Regions from separate parts of the Homo sapiens genome. Here region 1 is linked to region 2. Evidence: promoter capture Hi-C in 16 types of primary human blood cells and fetal thymus (Javierre and others, 2016). All regions are on one chromosome and are shown on one strand. Each heading gives the region's core, a stretch centred on a gene start or on the middle of the fragment in contact. The rest is flanking DNA. Distances are from core to core; before and after follow the strand shown. Region 1 has its middle 72 kb from the start of DNAH14. Region 2 holds the start of CNIH3 (cornichon family AMPA receptor auxiliary protein 3).

Evidence for each region. The method cuts DNA at HindIII sites, captures the fragments that hold promoters and counts their contacts. A CHiCAGO score of 5 or more calls a contact.
Region 1: a contact is called between a fragment that was not itself captured here and the fragment with the promoter of CNIH3 in region 2, in 3 of 17 cell types (M0 macrophages, M2 macrophages and M1 macrophages). The highest score is 7.7, in M0 macrophages.

What each region holds. Positions count from the first base shown.
Region 1 is chr1:224,855,818-224,860,176 of GRCh38, reverse strand. No RefSeq gene overlaps it. Among named protein-coding and RNA genes, the nearest start is that of DNAH14, 72 kb to the left of the region's middle. RefSeq lists an enhancer at 1-957. The HindIII fragment of the contact is 360 bases long and covers 2,269-2,628 here.
Region 2 is chr1:224,614,073-224,618,843 of GRCh38, reverse strand. CNIH3 (cornichon family AMPA receptor auxiliary protein 3) reads right to left here and starts at 2,527. Exons shown (of 6, transcript NM_152495.2): 1 at 1,589-2,527. The coding sequence starts at 1,669. CNIH3-AS2 (CNIH3 antisense RNA 2) reads left to right here and starts at 2,617. Exons shown (of 4, transcript NR_183287.1): 1 at 2,617-2,646; 2 at 3,108-3,232; 3 at 3,417-3,640. The HindIII fragment of the contact is 4,503 bases long and covers 839-4,771 here.

The sequences.
Region 1 (4,359 bases), core at 1,199-3,698, 240 kb before region 2:
ATGTGAGTCAACACTCCTTAATAAATTCTGCTTTATATATACATCTATCCTATTACTTCTGTCCCTCTAGAGAACCCTAATATAATAAGATAAATTCATGCGGGGTGAAATGACAAAAAGAAACACAATTAAGAAGGAAAAAACCAACTTCATCTTAAATTCAATAGTACTTTCCACTCTGGGTTTGACTAATTTGTAACCACCCAGACCCCACCAAATCAATCACCATCATGGCAGGTGACCACAGTCTGAGCGGGAGATTGGCATGGGCCCCTTCATCAGGATAGAGTTTATCTTCCCACCCACATCCGCTACACACACCCACTGCACATTGACATAGCCCTTTCATGAGCTCTTAGGAGGAAAGCAAGTATCTCCTTCTGCAGTTACTCATGTACCATTGTCTGGGCACAGGGCATGTTAATAACATGCCCTACAAATTATTCATCAAACCCCCAACAAGTGTGGTCTTTGTCTTCCAAGAAATATTTTGTGGAACTAACACCTGTTATGCTAAAGAGCCTTCATTCTCAATGGTAAATATGAAAATAAACTTGCTGTTTTAATTGATTAGGCTGGGCATGTAGAGGGGAAGGAAATCAGTGATGAGGGTGGTGGATGTGAGACGATAGGGTGAGAAAAGAGTCGTGGGTAGTTTGCGGCTTACCTTGCCTCTCCTTCCATTTCATCCTTCAGACTCAAGACATTATAGGAAATATCATTCGAAACTGGAATTTCCAGGGATGTTTACAACCTACTACAGTTCCTTGACAATTAGAAGGACAGTTTTCTCCTGAGCGATGAAGATAAATTCAAATGAGGAAATAGTTTTAGAAACATGAACTCCACTTCCCTCCACCCCCAAGAAAATGAGCACATACTTTTCAGTAGTGATTTTGACAATGTTATTTATTACTCTACAGTTGAAGAAAATGAAGCATATGGTGTGCAAACACCTTTCAGGTCCATGGATGTGGATACAAGAAGTTTTTTTGTGAAAAACATCTCAGTTCTATACTTAAATGCCTGCAAAACAGCTGCTGCCACTGTACAATATGCAATTCTTGGTGGCATTTGGTAGCTTGAAAAAAAATTGGTACTGGATGTACTACTGATGTCATAGGAATAATTATACTACCAAACAGTTGCTGAAATCTATTTTTAACATAAATCTCAATAATAGATAAAAATGAAAGATTTTGTAAACCTGTTACAGAGAGAGAGAAAAAAAAGACTCAGGTTTAAAGAATTAAAGTAAGCCAGGAAGATTCTCTACTAAAATTGTTTTCTTGAAGGTCACTAATGTCTACTCTCCAAATCCTGTCACCCATTATTGGTCCTCACCTTCCTTCTCTTCACCTCTCTCTTTCTTGTAACTCTTCTCCTCCTTTTCTTCTAAAATGTGCACTCTCCTGGTTCTCCTCCTTATTTCTCTGAGTGTCTTCCTATCTTTCTCCCATCTCTTGCCTTTGAACAAGTTGAGAGAAGTGGTTACAAAAGTGAGGTTGGAGCCAACACACTTGGGTTTGAATCTCAGTCTGATCACTCTTTGAGTAACCTGGGGAAATAATATCTGTAAATCTCAATGTTCTCATCTATCTAGTCAAGATTATAAGTGCTCATACCTGTAATCTCAGCACTTTGGGAAGCCGAGGCAGGCAGATCATGAGGTTAGAAGTTCAAGACCAGCCTGGCCAATATAGTGAAACCCCATCTCTACTAAAAATACAAAAAATTAGCCAGGCATGGTGGCAGACACCTGTAATCCCAGCCACTCGGGAGGCTGAGGCAGGAGAATCGCTTGAACCTAGGAGGCGGAGGTTGCAGTGAGCCGAGATTGTGCCATTGCACTCCAGCCTGGGCAACAGTGTGAGATTCTGTCTCAAAAAATAAATAAATAAATATGTGTACTACTATGAGGAAAGCTCCCCTGAGGACCACTCTTTGCATAACTTCAGAGGCCATCATTGCATTCTAGGATAATGCTCCCTATCTCCAGAGTTTGAATAATGCAGCAAGAGCTCTGCCTTCCTCACAAGTGTAAGGTCTGTGAAAGCAGACACTGTTTTGTTCACCAAGTGCCTAGAACACTACTTGGAAAACAGTAAATACCCCCCAAAATATGTACAGAATGGCAGCTCTATCATCATTAGATACTCAGCTTCGTCTTTCTGCTCCACCATCCTGAGTAAGGTTTCTATCCTCACAGTTACATCATGGTCCAAGATGGCTGCTGGTGCACCAGCCATAACATCCATACTCTAAGCTTTTTATAAAAGAGGAAGAGCACAAAAGTGTACCTCCCTGCTAATCCCTCTTTAATGAGCCCTCCCACAAAACCCTTTCATTTATAACTGTTTGTCCTGAACTTAGATATGTGGCCACACCTAGCAATAAGGCACTGGTTTTTGGCCAGGCACATTGATGCCCCATATAAAATGAGGATTTTGTACTGAAGAAGGGCAGAATGTACATTGGGTTGGTGACTTACAGTCTCCCTTTTGGTACAGCTCAAAGACCTCTCCAGACTCTCTCTTATGATGGCCATCCCCCAGGCTTAGCACTAAGGAGGGCACTTCTCTGTGAATCAGCTTGTCACATTTTTGGAGCAATAAATGTCTAAAAGCTTTTGTTTTGGTTTGGTTTTGGCTCTGGTGATTGTTTTCCTATGACTTTTACCAATTTGTACTTGTTCTGTTCCATGAAACCATACTGAAAACAAATCTACATTTTTCCTTCAGTGTGACAGTGGATTTTTTTATTGGGCAATTGAATAACAGCCCTTCAAATATTTTAAGAAAGCTGTTTGGTGATAGTGAAGTTCTGCCTTTTTCAAGCTAAATTTCTCCAGCTCTTTAAATCTTTCCCCATAAAACCCTACAACATTCTTTTTGCACTCCCCAGAATGTTGATCAAGTTGTCACTGGGTCCAGATCTGACCCAGCCAGTGGAGAACTTGGGGGAACTAACTCTGTCTCTCTTATTTCCATCACCGGAGGCTGAGTCAGCTTTTTTGTCAACCACATAATATTACTGGTTCATATGGAACTTGGGTCTACTAAACTTTCAGATATTTTTCATAAGAATTGCTATTAAGATAAGTTCTTGTATTAGTCCATTTTCATGCTGCTTTGAAGACATAACTGAGACTGAATAATTTATAAAGAAAAGAAGTTTAATTGACTCACAGTCGTGCTTGGCTAGGGAGGCCTCAGGAAACTTACAGTCATGGCGGAAGACAAAACAGGCACATCTTACATGGTAGCAGACAAGAGAAGTGAGAGACAAGTGAAGGGGGAAGCCCCTTATAAAACCATCAGATCCTGTGAGAACTGACTCACTATCATGAGAATAATATCGGTGAATTGCCCCCATGATTCAATTATCTCCACCTGGTCCCGTTCTTGACACGTAGAGATTATTACAATTCAAGGTGAGATTTGGGTGGGCACACAGAGCCAAATCATATCATCCATTTTGTACTTTATAATGTTTTTAACCCAAATTAATTTGATCTTGTGATATTTTCTCTTTAATGTATGGGCCCAGCATTTTAAAAAGATCTTATTGAGCTCTTTTAGTATTTTGACTTGGCCCTCCAGGGGTTTCTCCATTCACACTGTCCTAGCTTCATATCCCCTACAGGTCTGAGCAGCTTGCCTTCCAAATCTTTATCCAAGCTGAATCACTTAGCAGAGCATTGTGATGGACAAAGCTCGTGGTAGGCTGTAAGAAATTGCCTCTCCAGTTAAAACTAACCCATTTTCATCTGAGGCAGATTCCTTCAGAGTCATGTACTAAGGCTTGGTTGAATTTCACAACATAACATAGACTGGGGAAGAAATGGACTTTACTAGAAAATGAAGCAAACGTACAAAATGAGAGTTAACAAGGGAAGGCAGGGCTCCCTCTCTCCCACTATCCTCATGAGAGGTGGGTGGTGCCAGGGCATTACAGCTGACTTCACCATGGAGGTTGTTCCAGGGGAGGGACCTGGCCCTCAGCTGCTTTCTATTCTTTTGGGGCAAGTCTGAGAACAAACTTATTGGGCACTGGGCAGTCTGGATTTGGGTGCCAGCTGTTCTCAGGAGCTTCCTGGGGGAAAGCAAGATGCCAGTGCCTGGAGACCCTAAGGCCCATGGGATGTTGCAGTCCCATCTGCTCCAGGGAGGATGCCATGGGGACACCCTACTAGAGAAAGGGATGCCCCAAATCCCAGCTGGCTTGTTGTTCAAACAACTTAGGGTAAGTTCCCAGGATCATTTTTGCTTAATTCTGTCTCTTGCATCAAACCTATTAATTAAAGTTTATTTGGGTTTAGTCTTTCATTCAGCTACAAATTCGCCTGAGAAAATGGAC
Region 2 (4,771 bases), core at 1,278-3,777:
ACCCAGCCTTGCAGAGCAGAGAAGGGAGGGTTTAAAATCCCATTACTTCTAAATAGCGGAATTGTTTTAATCATCCCCCAAATATCTATGTTTGGATTCCCTGTCACCCCCAGATTCCTAAGTCTACTGATGCACGGATTTACACAATCTGAGAAATGGGGGAAAGCTTAGCGACTATCCAGGTCAATTTTCTCACTTTAGAGATGTGGAAGGAAGCCAGCAAGGGTCTTTCCTAAGGTTACATGATCGGAAGCCACCTTCCTCCCCGAGTTTCCCCTCTCCTCTCTGTCAGAGCCCTGTAGCAGGAGCTGCTCTAGCTGCTTAGTTCTATTTTAAGACAAACTCTCACTCTGCAAACCACTTATAGAAAACAAGGGCATCTCACCCACCCTGCAATTTTCTCCACGTCTTCATTTTGGGTCATCCCCACTGTATGAGAGTCTGTGATGCTCACCAGAACCATGCCTCCAAGAATTCGTCTCAGGGTCCTTCTCTGTCACCTAGACGCTGGGCAGGGCAAGGCTGTTAAAGGTGGGAAATTATGCACTGGGGTGCTCCTTCTAAACATTTGGCCTTGGCCATTCTTCCCACCAGCCCTCTGAGGGTGAGGATAGGGGGCTTAAACAACCTCAGAGAAGGAAGCCTTGAGAGTTGCATGCACTCGCTAAATGTTGCACAGTCTTTGAGAGGACCGGCGTACGCACTCCTGCGCGCTCTCTCAGTACTTCTCTTCCCCTATTCAGAAGCTTGCGCTCCTCTATTCCCACCCACACCTAAAGAACTGGGATCCACGGCTGCCCTCCACCTGGCGTAGCCCCGGGAAGGGTGACAGGAAGCTTGTGTGGGCTGGGGACGCTGGGGGCCTAGCGGAGGTTCGCCACCTGCAGGGGGTCTTCAGGAGTCGGACTTCAGACGCCAAGAGGGCAGATGGAGGACACCGTCGTCGCTCTCCACGGTCTCTCTTCGTGACTTTCCTCCATGGCCTTAATGATGCCTGCCCTTCCCAGTCTCCCTCGCCTCCTTGCTCTTCTCCTTCTCGCCTTTCCCCCACCGCCTTCCACTTCGACCCCCATCGCCTGGTCTCCTTCCTCTCCGTGGGCTCGGCTTCTCCCTACCTCTTACAAGGCGCTCCCGTCGTGTTTCCACTTTGTCTCCAATTATATCTAAATGCAACCCACCACAGATGCTGACATTTTAAATGTTTAGTTATTATAGCTACTTGACTAATTGCCGGGACCGACGGCGGCGCTTCTCCTTCGCCTCCCGCCGGCAGGAGAGGACGGGGCGGGAGAGGAAGGGGTTAGTTGTGGTTGTAGCCGCCACTCCCCGGCGCCCGGGACCCGGGACGCCCAGTCGGGCCCTGCAGAGGGTGTCCTACCTGGGCACCAGCGGCCCCTCGCCTCCAGCCAGGGCACCGAAGGCGCGCCCGGCGGGATGCAGCGAACTGCCTCCTGCCCCGGGACAGTGGAGCGGCAGAAGGTCCAACCTTCCGGTTCGCCCACGCCCGCAAGGTGGAAAAAGTGGGGTGAAATCGGGGAAATTTAGCGAAATTGGGGCGAAAGAAGAGAGACCAAAGCGTGTTACTCACGTGCCAGATGGCGAAGAAGATGAGCGCAGCGCACAGCACCAGAGACAGCATGTAGCAGAACGCAGCGAAAGTGAAGGCCATGGCCGGCGGACCCCAATCCCACCACACACGCCAAGAAGCCCCTAGGAGCCCGATGCCTCCCTAGAGGACCGCACTCCCTCCAAGGAGCCGCGTCTGCACGCTCCTCTCCAGGCTAGTGCCCAGGAGGGCGCACAGCTAGCGAAGCGACTCGAGGGTCAGCGAATAAGCGCTGGATTCCCGCAGGCTCCGGCGACCCCAGACCCGGCCCTCCGGCGAAGACAGGAAAACGTGTGTCGAGAGTCGCTGGAGGGAACCGTCCGCAAATCGAAGAAGAAACCAAATCAGCAGCGAACACCTGCAAATTAGTGCCAAGCTGTGAGCCCCTCGAGACCAACACGACAAGCGATGCGACGACTCCACGGAGGACCGAGGGAGGAGGTCCCATTCGCCCCAGGAAGAGCTCTCTGCTTTTCTCCACTAAACCGCTGAGGAGAGACGAGCGCTCCGCTCCGGACCCTCCCGCGCCACCGGGGCGCAAACGGATAGTGTCCAGCGAGGTGCCCGAGCGGCCTCCGAGCTCCTCCCAAATCCCAGAGCCGGGCAGCGCTCTTTCCCGAGAGAAGGAGTCTTTAGGTAGCCGGGAGGAGGTAGGTCCCGTTGGTCCTGCGCCCCAGACGCGGCTTCCAGCGCAGCCGTGCGCTCCGAGGCGCGCCCGTCCCCAACCGTGACTCCGGCCAGCCGGCCTCCGCAACCCAAGTGTCCCGGAAACCGGGGGTCGGACCGGGGCGAGCACTGGCTCCACCCAACGGGCCAACTCCAGCCCGGGTGGCTGCAGCAGTGGGTTTCAGGCCAAACGCTGTAGCTCGCTCCACCTGCTGCTGCCGCTGCCGCCGCCGCCGCCGCCGCCTTTGCCACTGCGAGAACTGTAGCGGTGCGACCCGGGATTCCCTCCTCTCGGCGCCCCACCCTCGACTCCTGTTCCGCTGAGCGCGCCCTCCCCGGCGGGCGGAGACTGCAGCGCCGGGGGCTGAGGAAAGGTGGGTGGCGAAGCGCCGCCGGGCGCTTGGTGGCCGCTGCCGCCGCCACTGCAGCTGTGCACGCCCGCCTCTCGGAGGAAACTTGAAGCCAGCAGTACAAGCAGGGCTGGAGGCCGAGCGGAGGTGGGGCGGGACCGGTTGGAGCAGGGACTCTTTAAACACGTGCGTCTGGAGGAGGTGGGAAGCTGCGGAAGGGTATGGTGTGTGCCTCGCGCCTAAACGCCGCAGCCGCCCCTCCCGGTTCTTGCAGTTTCGCCTATCGGAGTGGGAAGTGTGGGGACTTGGGGCGTTGCCTAGTGTTGGTTGGGGATACAGTGCAAGCCTTGGATCCCAAAGCTGCTTGGATGGATTTTACCAAACTGTAGCATACTCAGTGCTTAGGGCTGCGTTTACTGCTCTGCTCCCAGACCCTGCAAAATTCTCCATTAACGTCCTTCCGTTGCATCCTCTACCCTCCCCAGCCATCCGACCTTGGGACTAGGGAAACGTGGACTTGGTGGGCTATTCTGCGCTGAAGAGGCAGCAACGAGGGCTCGGTGGTATTGGTGTTGGTCCTAGTGGAATTGTCAAGAGGATGCTTTTGAAGGTAGACCGTTTTCTAGCTGCAAGTTACCTAACCTCTTTAATCCTTAGTTTCCTTATCAGAAAAACATAAATAAGAGTAGAGTCAAGCCATTTCAAAGGATTAAAAGGGAACATAAGTAAAAAACCTAGCACTTGGTATACGTTCAATAAGTGGTAGGGATTATTAATTGCACCCTTTCCCCCAGTGGCCCAGCATCTTGGAAGTTCACCATGCTTGCTTTGCAAGAGATTCCTGACGCTGCAGTGAAAGAGGTCCAGTCATTCCAGAGAGAACTTCAGTTTCAGACAAGTCATCAAATCCAGAAAGCAAGGAAAAATACCCTGAAAGACGACTGGCAAATCTCGGTGAAAGAGTAGACGCACTTCATGGATTGGAGTGAATCTTAGAGCACCTGGTACCTTGCACAGGGTGGGAACTAGATAAATAACTATTGCTTGATTCTGACTCTGGTGTGCTAGTTTTCCTGTTCACAGATGTGATTCCAATGCCTTGAGAGCTGGAAGGGATGAATTCCAGCAAGATAGAGATACAGCTTTCTAGTGACAGAACTGGAATCCTGTCTGCGGACTCCTAATCCTGGGCTCTTTCTACTATGCCCCAACATTCCTGCAGCTATTTGGCCACATCTTTTACTTATTTATTTATTTATTTATTTATTTATTTATTTATTTATTTGACGGAGTCTCACTTTGTCGCCAGGCTGGAGTGCAGTGGCGTGATCTCTGCAACCTCCACCTCCCTGGTTCAAGCGATTCTCCTGCCTTAGCCTCCCGAGTAGCTGGGACTACAGGCACGCACCACCACGCCCAGCTAATCTTTGTATTTTTAGTAAAGACGGGGTTTCACCATGTTGGCCAAGATGGTCTCGATCTCTTGACCTCGTGATCTACCCACCTCGGCCTCCCAAAGTGCTGGGATTACAGGCGTGAGCCACCGCTCCAGGCCCTTCAATTTATTTTATTTTATTTTTTTGAAGACAGTCTTGCTGTGTTGCCCAGGCTGGAGTGCAGTGGTGCTATCATAGCTCACTGTAGCCTCAAACTCCTTGCTAGGACTACAGGCATGCACCACCACACCCAGATAATTTTTGTTTTGTTTTGTTTGCAGACATAGGTCTCAATATATGGCCAGGCTGGTCCCAAACTCCTGGCCTCAAGCAGTCTTCCAGCCTTGGCCTCCCAAAGCGCTGGGATTATAGGTGTGCACCACAGTGCCTGGCCTCATATCTCCCTCCAGTTTAGAAACTAGATGCCTTTCAGTGAGAAGTGGAGAAATTAGAGCAAATCCAGAGGCTGATGACCAGAGCAATGAACCGATCTACATTTTATTGCCTCTGGGTCAGGACCGGCTACATACTTTGGAGGGCCAAGTGCAAAATGAAAATGTGGGACTTTGTATTAGGCCGTTCTTGCATTGCTATAAAGAAATACCTGGCCAGGCATGGTGGTTTATGCCTGTAATCCCAGTACTTGGGGAGGTCGAGGTGGGCAGATCACCTGAGCTTAGGTATTTGAGACCAGCCTGGACAACATGGCAGAA